Linked DNA regions of Homo sapiens: region 1 is linked to region 2. Evidence: promoter capture Hi-C in human tissues and cell types (Jung and others, 2019). All regions are on one chromosome and are shown on one strand. Each heading gives the region's core, a stretch centred on a gene start or on the middle of the fragment in contact. The rest is flanking DNA. Distances are from core to core; before and after follow the strand shown. Region 1 overlaps WDTC1 (WD and tetratricopeptide repeats 1). Region 2 holds the start of STX12 (syntaxin 12).

Evidence for each region. The method cuts DNA at HindIII sites, captures the fragments that hold promoters and counts their contacts. A contact is called where the count stands out against the background at its distance.
Region 1: a contact is called between a fragment that was not itself captured here and the fragment with the promoter of STX12 in region 2, in 1 of the 25 tissues and cell types used here (mesenchymal stem cells).

Annotation. Positions count from the first base shown.
Region 1 is chr1:27,242,518-27,247,616 of GRCh38, reverse strand. The region is part of intron 1 of WDTC1 (WD and tetratricopeptide repeats 1); the gene reads right to left. Among named protein-coding and RNA genes, the nearest start is that of WDTC1, 10 kb to the right of the region's middle. The HindIII fragment of the contact is 4,284 bases long and covers 405-4,688 here.
Region 2 is chr1:27,771,233-27,776,138 of GRCh38, reverse strand. STX12 (syntaxin 12) reads right to left here and starts at 2,920. Exons shown (of 9, transcript NM_177424.3): 1 at 2,714-2,920. The coding sequence starts at 2,831. RefSeq lists enhancers at 2,083-2,583, 2,781-2,930, 2,584-3,084, 3,051-3,200 and a silencer at 2,461-2,670. The HindIII fragment of the contact is 12,641 bases long and covers 1-4,906 here.

The DNA.
Region 1 (5,099 bases), core at 1,297-3,796, 530 kb after region 2:
TTATCCTCAGCAAACTAAAGCAGAAACAGAAAACCAAATATGGCATGTTCTAACTTGTAAGTGGAAGCTAAATGATGAGACTTCATGGACACAAAGAAGGGAACAACAGACACTGGAACCTACTTGAGGGTGGAGGGTGGGAAGAGGAAGAGGATCAGAAAAAATAACTATTGAGTACTAGGCTTAGTACCTGGGTAACAAAATAATCTGCACAACAAACCACCATGACATGAGTTTACCTGTATAAAAAACCTGCACAAGGCTGGGCACAGTGGCTCACATCTCTAATCCCAGCATTTTGGGAGGCTGAGGCAGGTGGATCACTTAAGGTCAGAAGTTCAAGACCAGCCTAGCCAACGTGGTAAAACCTCGTCTCTACTAAAAATACAAAAATTAGCCAGGCGTGGTGGCAGGCACCTGTAATCCCAGCTACTCGAGAGGCTGAGGCAGGAGAATCGCTTAAACCCAGGAGGCAGAGGTTGCAGTGAGCTGAGATCATGCCACTCTGCTCCAGCCTGGGCAACAGAGGGAGACTCTGTCTCAAAAAAAAGTTTAATTAATTAAATAAATAATAATGCAGAAATAGGCTGGGTGCGGTGGCTCACGTCTGTAATCCCAGCACTTTGGGAGTCCGAGGTAGGAGGATTACTTAGGCCCAGGAGTTTGAGGCTGCAGTGAGCTATGTTTGTGGCACTGGACTCCAGGCTGGGTGACAGAGTGAGACCCTGTTTCGAAAAAAAAAAAAAAAAAAAAATGGCTGGGCGTGGTGGCTCACGCCTGTAATCCCAGCACTTTGGGAGGCCGAGGTGGGCAGATCACCTGAGGTCAGGAGTTCAAGACCAGCCTGGCCAACATGGTGAAACCCCATCTCTACTAAAAATACAAAAATTAGCCGGGCGTGGTGGCGGGCACCTGTAATCCCAGCTACTCAGGAGGCTGAGGCAGAAGAATCGCTTAAACCTGGAAGGCGGAGGTTGCAGTAAGCCCAGATCGTGCCATTGCACTCCAGCCTGAGTGACAAAGCAAGACTCAGTCTAAAAAAAAAAAAGGAAAGAAAACACATGTCCATACAAAAAGCTGTACATGAATACTCAGAGCAGCATTATTCATAATAGCCCAAATTAGAAACAACCCAAATGGCCATCAATTGATGAATAAATATAATGTGTTAATATCCACTGTAATGGAATATTATGCAGCCATAAAAAGGAATGAGGTACTAATTCATACAACAACATGGAAGAAACTTCAAAACATTCTGCTAAGTGAAGGAAGCCAGTCACAAAAGACTACATGTCGTATGGTTCTATTTATGTGAAATGTCAAGAATAGGAAAACCTACAGAGACAGAAAGAGATGGGAGTGTTGGGGAGGAATGTGATAGCTCAAGGGTATGTGTTTCTTTTTTAGGTGATGAAAATGTTTTGGAATTAGATAGTGGTGACAAGTTGCACAACTTTGTGACTATATTAAAACCAATGAATTGTATAATTTAAGAGACTGTCTATTTTATGGTACGTGAATTATATGTCAATAAAGAAGAAATACCTTAAACCCTTTGCTCTCTCAGTCTATTCTGCCGTTTGTAAAATGAGAGGTGGACTCTGAGATAAGCTACAAAACCCCTTCCGATGACACTATGCTGAGATTTTAAGTAGACACTACTGGTTAGCAGCAGACCAGAGATGGAACCTAAAACATCTGTATTCTCTTTCCTCTGGACATGCTACCTCCCATAGCATGTCCCATAGGATTACAGTGGCTCATGCCTGTAATCCCAGCACTTTCTGGGAGGCCAAGGCGGGTGGACCAGGAGGTCAGGAGTTCGAGACCAGCCTGGCCAACATGGTGAAAGCTCGTCTCTACTAAAAATACAGAAATTAGCTGTGCATGGTGGCAGGCACCTATAATCCCAGCTACTCGGGAAGCTGAGGCAGGAGAATCGTCTGAACCCGGGAGGCGGAGGTTGCAGTGAGCCGAGATTGCGCCATTGCACTCCACCCTGGGTGACAGGGCAAGACTCTGTCTCAAAAATACAAACAAACAAAAAAAAAAAACCAAAAAAAACCCTTTCTTTTCTCTACCTCAAAATCACAGGTTATGGAAAGAAAATTCCATTCTTAGCCTTTCCTTCATCTGTCTCCTACCTTGAGCTGTGGTTATTTACGTGGCTTCTCTTTCTTAGAAGATTAAAAGCATGCTGAGGGCCTGCTCTTCATCCGATTCATCCATTGATCCCACTGGTCTTCCAGGAGTGATGTAAGCTTAGCAGGCACCAATAAATATTTGCTGAATGAATAATGGCATGACTGCCTTACACACAATGTTTTATACCTATCAAAGCACTTTTGTTCAAGCTTTTAATTTGAACTTTGCAACAATCCTTTTAGGAAGTTAGAAAGCTAATATAACGCTGCTATGAATAATGCTGCTATGAATATTCATGTACGATAATAATCCCCATTTAACAAGGGAGAAGTGAAGCAGAATACTACATGGTACTGAGGAAGAAGCACTGGACTGGGAGATCTAGGGTCTTGTGCTCCAAGCCAGCCTCTGCCTTTAACTGGCTGTATGACCCTGAGTGAGGCATTTTGCTCTCTCAGTCTATTCTGCCGTTTGTAAAATGAGAGGTGGACTCTGAGATAAGCTACAAAACCCCTTCCGATGACACTATGCTGAGATTTTAAGTAGACACTACTGGTTAGCAGCAGACCAGAGATGGAACCTAAAACATCTGTATTCTCTTTCCTCTGGACATGCTACCTCCCATAGCAGAGACGTGCCCCCAACCAGGGTGACAACTGACCCCCTTTCAACATTCTGAATTATGCAAAGATGTATGCAAGTTTCCTTTCACTCTATTTATAGTGGTTCTATTGGAGCAATCCTACAAAAAAGATGAAAGATGCAACGAAGCAAGGACTCAACTTCACTTTCAATGCATAAAGGTCATTGGAAATAACATAAGGCCAGGTGTGGTAGCTCATGCCTGTAATCTCAGTGCTTTGGGAGACCGAGGCAGGAGGATCACTTGAAGGCCGGGAGGTCGAGAGCAGTCTGGGCAACAGAGTAAGATCCTGTCTCTATAAAAAAGTTTTTTAAAAATTAGCCAGGCATGGTGGCACACTCCTGTAGTCCTAGCTACTAGGAAGGCTGAGGCAGGAGGGAGGAGGGAGAATTGCTTGAGCCCAGGAGTTTGAGGCTATATTGAGCTATGATTGTGCCTCTGCACTCCAGCCCGTGTGACAAAGTGAGGCGCTGTCTCAAAAACAAAACAAAACAAAAGAAAGAAAGAGCATAATAAAATGAAGAGTGTAGCTGTGGACCTAACAGATCTTAGGTTCAAATCCCAGTTCTGACACCTATTTTCTGTCTGACTTGACATTTCTTTTAAATTTTTTTTTCTTTTCTATACCTCTTACGTCTCTTCATCTTTTTAATTTTTTTAAAAAAATTTTTATTTGTTTTGAGACAGGGTCTGGCTCTGTCACCCAGGCTGGAGTGTGGTAGCATGATCTCAGCTCACTGCAACCTCTGCCTCCCGGGCCCAAGAGATCCTCCCATCTCATCAGCCTCCCGAGTAGTTGGGACCACGGGCATGCACCACCCACACACACCTGGCTAATTTTTGCATTTTTTTTTTTTTTTTTTGTAGAGATGGGGTTTCACCATGCTGCCCAGGCTGGTCTCGAACTCCTGGGCTCAAGCGATCTGCCCACCTCAGCCTCCCAAAGTGTTGGGATTATAGGCATGAGTCACCATGCCAGACCCTGACTTGACACTTCTAAACCTTAGTTTCCTAATCTGATAATACCTACCTCTGCAGGGTGAGGAGGAACAGAAGCGCTTGCATGTAAAATGCCTGACACTGATCCTATTAAATAATATTTATTGAACATTCTAACAGTTTACAAGTGTCATCTCACAGACTCCTCATAATAATCCTATGAGACAGGTGCTATTGTTATCCTCATCTTACAGATGCAGGATCTGAGGCACAGAAAAGTGAAGTTGCCAAAGCTACACAGTTCTTAGACAGAGAGTCAACCTATACAGTCTGACTCCAGGGGCCAGGCCATTGGCCACTAAATAATAATTACTGGGCCGGGTGTGGTGGCTCACACCTGTAATCCAGCACTTTGGGAGGCCAAGGCGGGCAGATCACTTGAGGTCAGGAGTTCCAGACCAGCCTGGCCAATGTGGTGAAACCCTGTCTCTATTAAAAATACAAAAATTAGCCGGACATGGTGGCAGGCGCCTGTAATCCCAGCTGCTGGGGAGGCTGAGGCAGGAGAATCACTTGAACTCAGGAGGCAGAGGTTGCAGTGAGCCAAGATCGAGATCATGCCACTGCACTTCAGCCTGGGTGACAGAGTGAGACATTGTCTCAAAAAAAAAAAAAAAAAAAAAAAAAATTACTGGCCAGGGAGCAGCGGCTCACACCTGTAATATCAGTATTGATACAATTTCAGGAAGCTGCTGAAACTTTGTCTCTTACCATTCCTTAGGGTTAAGCTGCCTTGACTCTGCTGATCTCAAACACAAATTTAAAGAGTGCCATTTCAAGGTCATGGACTAAGTTGGTACAAGGACAGTTTCTGGGAAAGCTTTCGCTGGTAGGATAGACTCATCACCAAAGCATCTTCAGGAAACTTCTTAGCCATCTTTGAGGCTCCTGGCTTAAATAATCCCATGTAGGACTGCTTGAGGTTTTCTCTGCAGAAGAGAGCTGCTTCTAAGCAATGCTTTACTTTCTGGGAAGCTTTAGATAAAAACTCACCTTGATGTCTTCTCCCCTGCCCAGTGGGCTCCGTATTGCTGTTTGAGCTTTTAAGAGACAGGGTCGCCTGGGTGCGGTGGCTCACGCCTGTAATCCCAGCACTTTGGGAGGCCGAGGTGGGTGAATCACCTGAGGTCAGGAGTTTGAGGCCAGCCTGACCAACATGGTGAAACCCTGTCTCTACTAAATACAAAAAATTAGCCAGGCGTGGTGGTGCATACCCGTTATCCCAGCTACTCGGGAGGCTGAGGCAGGAGAATCACTTGAACCCGGGAGGCAGAGGTTGCAGTGAGCCGAGATTGCACCATTGCACTCC
Region 2 (4,906 bases), core at 1,671-4,170:
ATAGCTAAATCTTACCAATTCTATCACCAAGGAAACCTCTCCTATCCTTTCCTTTCTTTTCATTTTCACAGCCCTAACTGGTATCTCTGATTCCAGTCTCTCCCTTTGAATTCAATTCGCACTTTCCTAAATAACTAAATCCAAGCCCCTTAGCTTAGCATTTAACATCCTTCATGTTTGGGCCACAATTTACCTTTCAATCCTTTTTTCCCACTACTTTCTGGAATCCACCACTCTAGCCAAATTAAATTACTCTTCTAGATATACTCTATGCTTCCCCACTATGATGCCTGTTCATTTTATTCCCTCCTGGAATGCTCTTCTCCTCTTTACCTTCGAAGGTCCAAATCTTTCCATCCTCTTTCCAGACATAACTCAAATGCCATAATGCCTTCTCAATTAAAAACAATCTCTCTCTTCCCAGAATACCTGCATGTTATTTATATGTCTTCTATAGCACCAATCCCTTTCAACTTTATATTTTGGTTATGAACTCTGCAGGTTCCCTGTTGAAAGATCCATGCCAGTTCTTATACTTACTACATACTCAAATAAATATATGTTGAAGGCCAGGCATGATGATTCATGCCTGTAATCCTGGCCTATTCGGAGGCCAAGGTGGGTGGATCACTTGAGCACAGGAGTTCAAGACCAGACTGGACAACATGGTGAAACTCCATCTCTACAAAAAATATAAAAATTAGCCGGGCGTGGTGGTGCACACCTGTAGTCCCAGCTACTTGTAGGGCTGAGGCAGGAGGACTGCTTGAGCCAGGGAGGTTGAGGCTGCAGTGAGCTGAGATCATGCCACTGCATACCAGCCTGGGTGACAGAGTGAGACCCTGTCTCAAAATAAAAATTTAAATTTAAATTTAAAACTGTATGTCGGATCTACCTTTGGGAGTATTCTGGTTTTATATATATATAAAATACACACGAAGATGGATAGATGGATACATGTTGAATGAATATTTCGCAAATAGATATTAAAATTAGATTTAGCTTCAACAAGAAAATTTCAGCCTTGAACTAGAATTTTCTGATCTAACCTGTATTACAGCTCCTTCACAAAAGGAAACTGGAACAAACAGTACTATACTTTCTAACCAGTGGTCATATTAATTTTTTTTACTTCTGGATTTTAACAGGCCACATATTCTTCCTTTCACTTCCAGAGTCTCAATCCCTTTTGATCAGAAACTTTCTACTTCTCAAATTCTACAATATACATTTAGATTTAAAAGCAAAGTGAGCCTGGGCAACATAGTGAGACCCCATCCCTACAAAAAATTTAAAAATTAGCCTGGCACGGTAGATGCATCCTTGTAGTCCTTGCTACTCAGCAAGCTGATCAGGAATTCAAGGTTATAGTGAGCTAGGATTGTACCACTTCACTCAGATCACTGCATTCTGCCTGGGTGACAGAAGTAGACTCTGTCTCGAAAAAATAAATTAAAAATATTTTAAATCAAAAAAATTAGGCTAGGCACAGTGGCTCACGCCTGTAATCCCAGCACTTTGGGAGGCTAAAGTGGGAGAAGTGCTTGTGCCCAGGGGTTTGAGACCAGCCTGGCCAACATAGCAAGACTTCATCTCTACAAAAAAGAAAAATTTTTAAAAGTTTAAAAACGAAAGCAAAGTGACACTCTTTAAAATATAGAATATAATTGTAATTCAGGACTAACTAGTTCTACCTATTAACAGAGTACGCCAAGCTCACAAAACAATAATAAACAACAAGGATGATGACCACCATTCTTTCCAAGTAAAGCTGCTGCTGATCTCCTGTTTATAAGGCTCCAAGATGATTTTCAAGCACAAGAAACACCCTGTATTTGACTCATTCAGCTACAGTTTCACTCAGACCCTAATGGGGAGGAGGGAGTTTTAAGACAAGCAATAGCATTCTGAATTCCACCAACAACTCTACCATGCCTTACTTGCTATGTGGTTGTGGCTAAGTGTCTTAGCTTCCCTGTGTACCAGATTTGTTCAAGAGCAGCTAAGTAGGGAAGGAAAACAAAAGCCTCATCTGCCTGAAATCCAAAAATACACCCCAATTATTTGTTACAAAAGACAAAATAATGTAAATTGAAATGCTGTTGGTGAATTCTCTTTATTAAAATGAAGTCATCCCACCTTTCAAATACCAGTCATTGTGTCTGATTTCCGAATTCATTACAGGAAGAACTGTGTATGAAGTCACCCAAACACATGCACTCTCCACTTCCCTTAATTGAAAGTTGCTGATTTCCGAGGAGCCAGGGGCTGAGCAGAATGTAAACCTAAAGGCTAAATCAGTAAACAACCCCATCCAAACTGGTCTAAGAGGAAAGCGAGGTGGGTGGGGAGGAAGGTGGGTGACAGGAGAAACTCGGCTGACCACTGCGCCAAGTCAACGCACTCACAGCTCTCGAGGTGACACACACTCCCCTTCCCACCCTCGGGCTGTCAAGTCGGCTGTTTTGGTCCCAGCACCGTGGGGGCAGAACTCCAGAGAAGCAGCTCAAGCTTCAGCTGGGGCCGGGGACCCTCGGGCAACCCGGGCCTGACAGATTGGGGGATGGCAGCCCACCGCCCCCAGGGTGGACAGCCCGAGACAGCCCCAGGTGTGGCCTCGGCCGTAGCCCCAGCCGGGCCCTGCGTCCCGGCAGCCTCACCCAGGCCTGTCCCCGGGACAGCTCCCGCCCCCCAGCTCGGTACCCCGGCTCACTGGCTTGGCTGATCCGCTGGATGTTGCCGCTGCACGTCTGGATGATGCTGCTGAAGTCCCGGAGCTGGGGCCCCGAGGGCCCCGGGTTCCGGTACATGTCTAAGGGACCGTATGACATGACGAGGAGCTGAGACCTGCTCGCTCTACACCGCTCTCCTACCGGAAGCAGCCGCCAGCCGGGACCCGCAGGCTGACGGAGAAACTGGGAAGAGCAAGGGCGGGGAAGGAGCTAAGGCTGCGTGCGCACTAGCCCCGCCCTCACGCGGCGCGCACGCGTCCTCCCCGCCCCGGTCCAAAGTGCGCAGGCGCCGCTGGGACTGGAGCTGGGACTGGAGCTGGGACTGTAGCTTAGAGACAGGACTCCCCGAGGCTTGGGGATGCAGGGCGGGGAGATGACGTCACCTAGTTGGGGCTGAGATTGGATGAGCTTGGGTGGAGGTGTTGTTTCTCGCCAGGGCACAGTGACAAGAGGCAAGAATTTTCGATTTGCATAAAACTGTACCAGATGATCTCAGCCCTTACATCCTATTCTGTTCTGAGAATTCAGGCCCAAATATGGGAGAATTCAACGTTGAAACTCAGACCCGGAACCAAATCGTAACCCGAAATTCCTCTCTACTTCCATCCCCAGGGCTTTGGTAGTGTTTGGGGTTTCCAAACCACTTTCATTTCTCCCTCCACCCCTCTTCTAATCTAAACAATAAAATAATGTTTATTGAGCACATACTATGTGAATCCTCACCGCAATTCACTTGTTCATAAGATTTTTCACAGCAGGGGACGATGCTCTATCTATATTTTTATCATTAGAATAGATAACGGAGAGTCGGTTTTTTAAATGTTGAAGTAAAGTAATTCATCAAAGTAAGCATTATTATTTTCCCTCTTACCGATGAGAAAATTAAGACCAGCGAGGTTAGTTCGCCTTGCTGAAATTTGACTGCAAAACCCAAACGCTAAGCTGACTCTCTCCTCACCTCGCTACTTCTCTAAAATTCATTCTCGTCTAAATCTCTCCCAAATAGCTCGTTCATCTATATCCCAAGCCGGGATATCTTGGAGAACTAGATTCCTAAAATTTAAAAATCGTTCCCTTAAGTAATTTGGAATGCATGACCTCAATGTTCCCACAGAAAACTGCATTTTTGTAAGCCTATGTTAAAAGGAAAGACATAGGATTTTGGTTTGGGAGGAGATCAAGATAGTGAGAAGTGAAGGGGAACTGGCTGCGTTTCCTGTGTTCTACACCCCACCCCACCCCACCCCAGCCTGCTTTGTAGTCTTTGGAAAATGCAAAGACAGAAAGCTGCTTGCCTGGATGAAAGGAGACCCAAAGTGAATGAGCCTGTATATGGCCTTAGGATTTTTTCTTTATTTTATTTTTTTTGAGACAGGGTCCCGCTCTGTCACGCAGGTTGGAGTGCAGTGGCGCGATCTCTGCTCACTGCATCCTCCTTCTCCTGGGCTCAGGAGGTCCTACCACCTAACCTCTGAGTAGCTAGGATTACAGGCGTGCGCCACCACGCCCAGCTAATTTTTATATTTTTTGTAGTGTTGGGGTTTGGCCATGTTGTCCAGGCTGGTCTCAAACTCCTGGGCTCAAGCAATCCACCCACCAGCCTTAGGATTTTTTAAGGGTGACTATCTCTATTTTTCGTTGGAGAATTTATGAGAGCATTTTTTTTCCCTGTCTCTAGAAAGAGACGGATGACATTTGGGGACTCTTATTTTGGTTATTTTATTTTATTTTATTTTTGAGACAGAATCTTGCTCTGTTGCCCAGGCTGGAGTGCAATGGCGCAATCTCGGCTCAATGCAACCTCCGCCTCCTGGGTTCAAGCGATTCTCCTGCCTCAGCCTCCCGAGTAGCTGGGATTACAGGCGTGTACCACCACGCCCGGGTACTTTTTGTATTTTTAGTAGAGATGGGGTTTGACCATGTTGGCCAGGCTGGTCTCGAACTCCTGACCTCAGGTGATCCACCCGCCTCGGCTTCCCAAAGTGTTGGGATTACAGGCGTGAGCCACCGCACCCAGCCTGTTTTGGTTATTATTATAAAACCTTACCGTTTCTTAGAATCTGTAGTTTTATGTCAAATCTTAAGCAAGTCATGTAAATTGCACTTTTTTACCTATATAATAGTACTGATGATTTTTTTCATTTACATTTGACACTATTTAAAGTGAAGTTCAG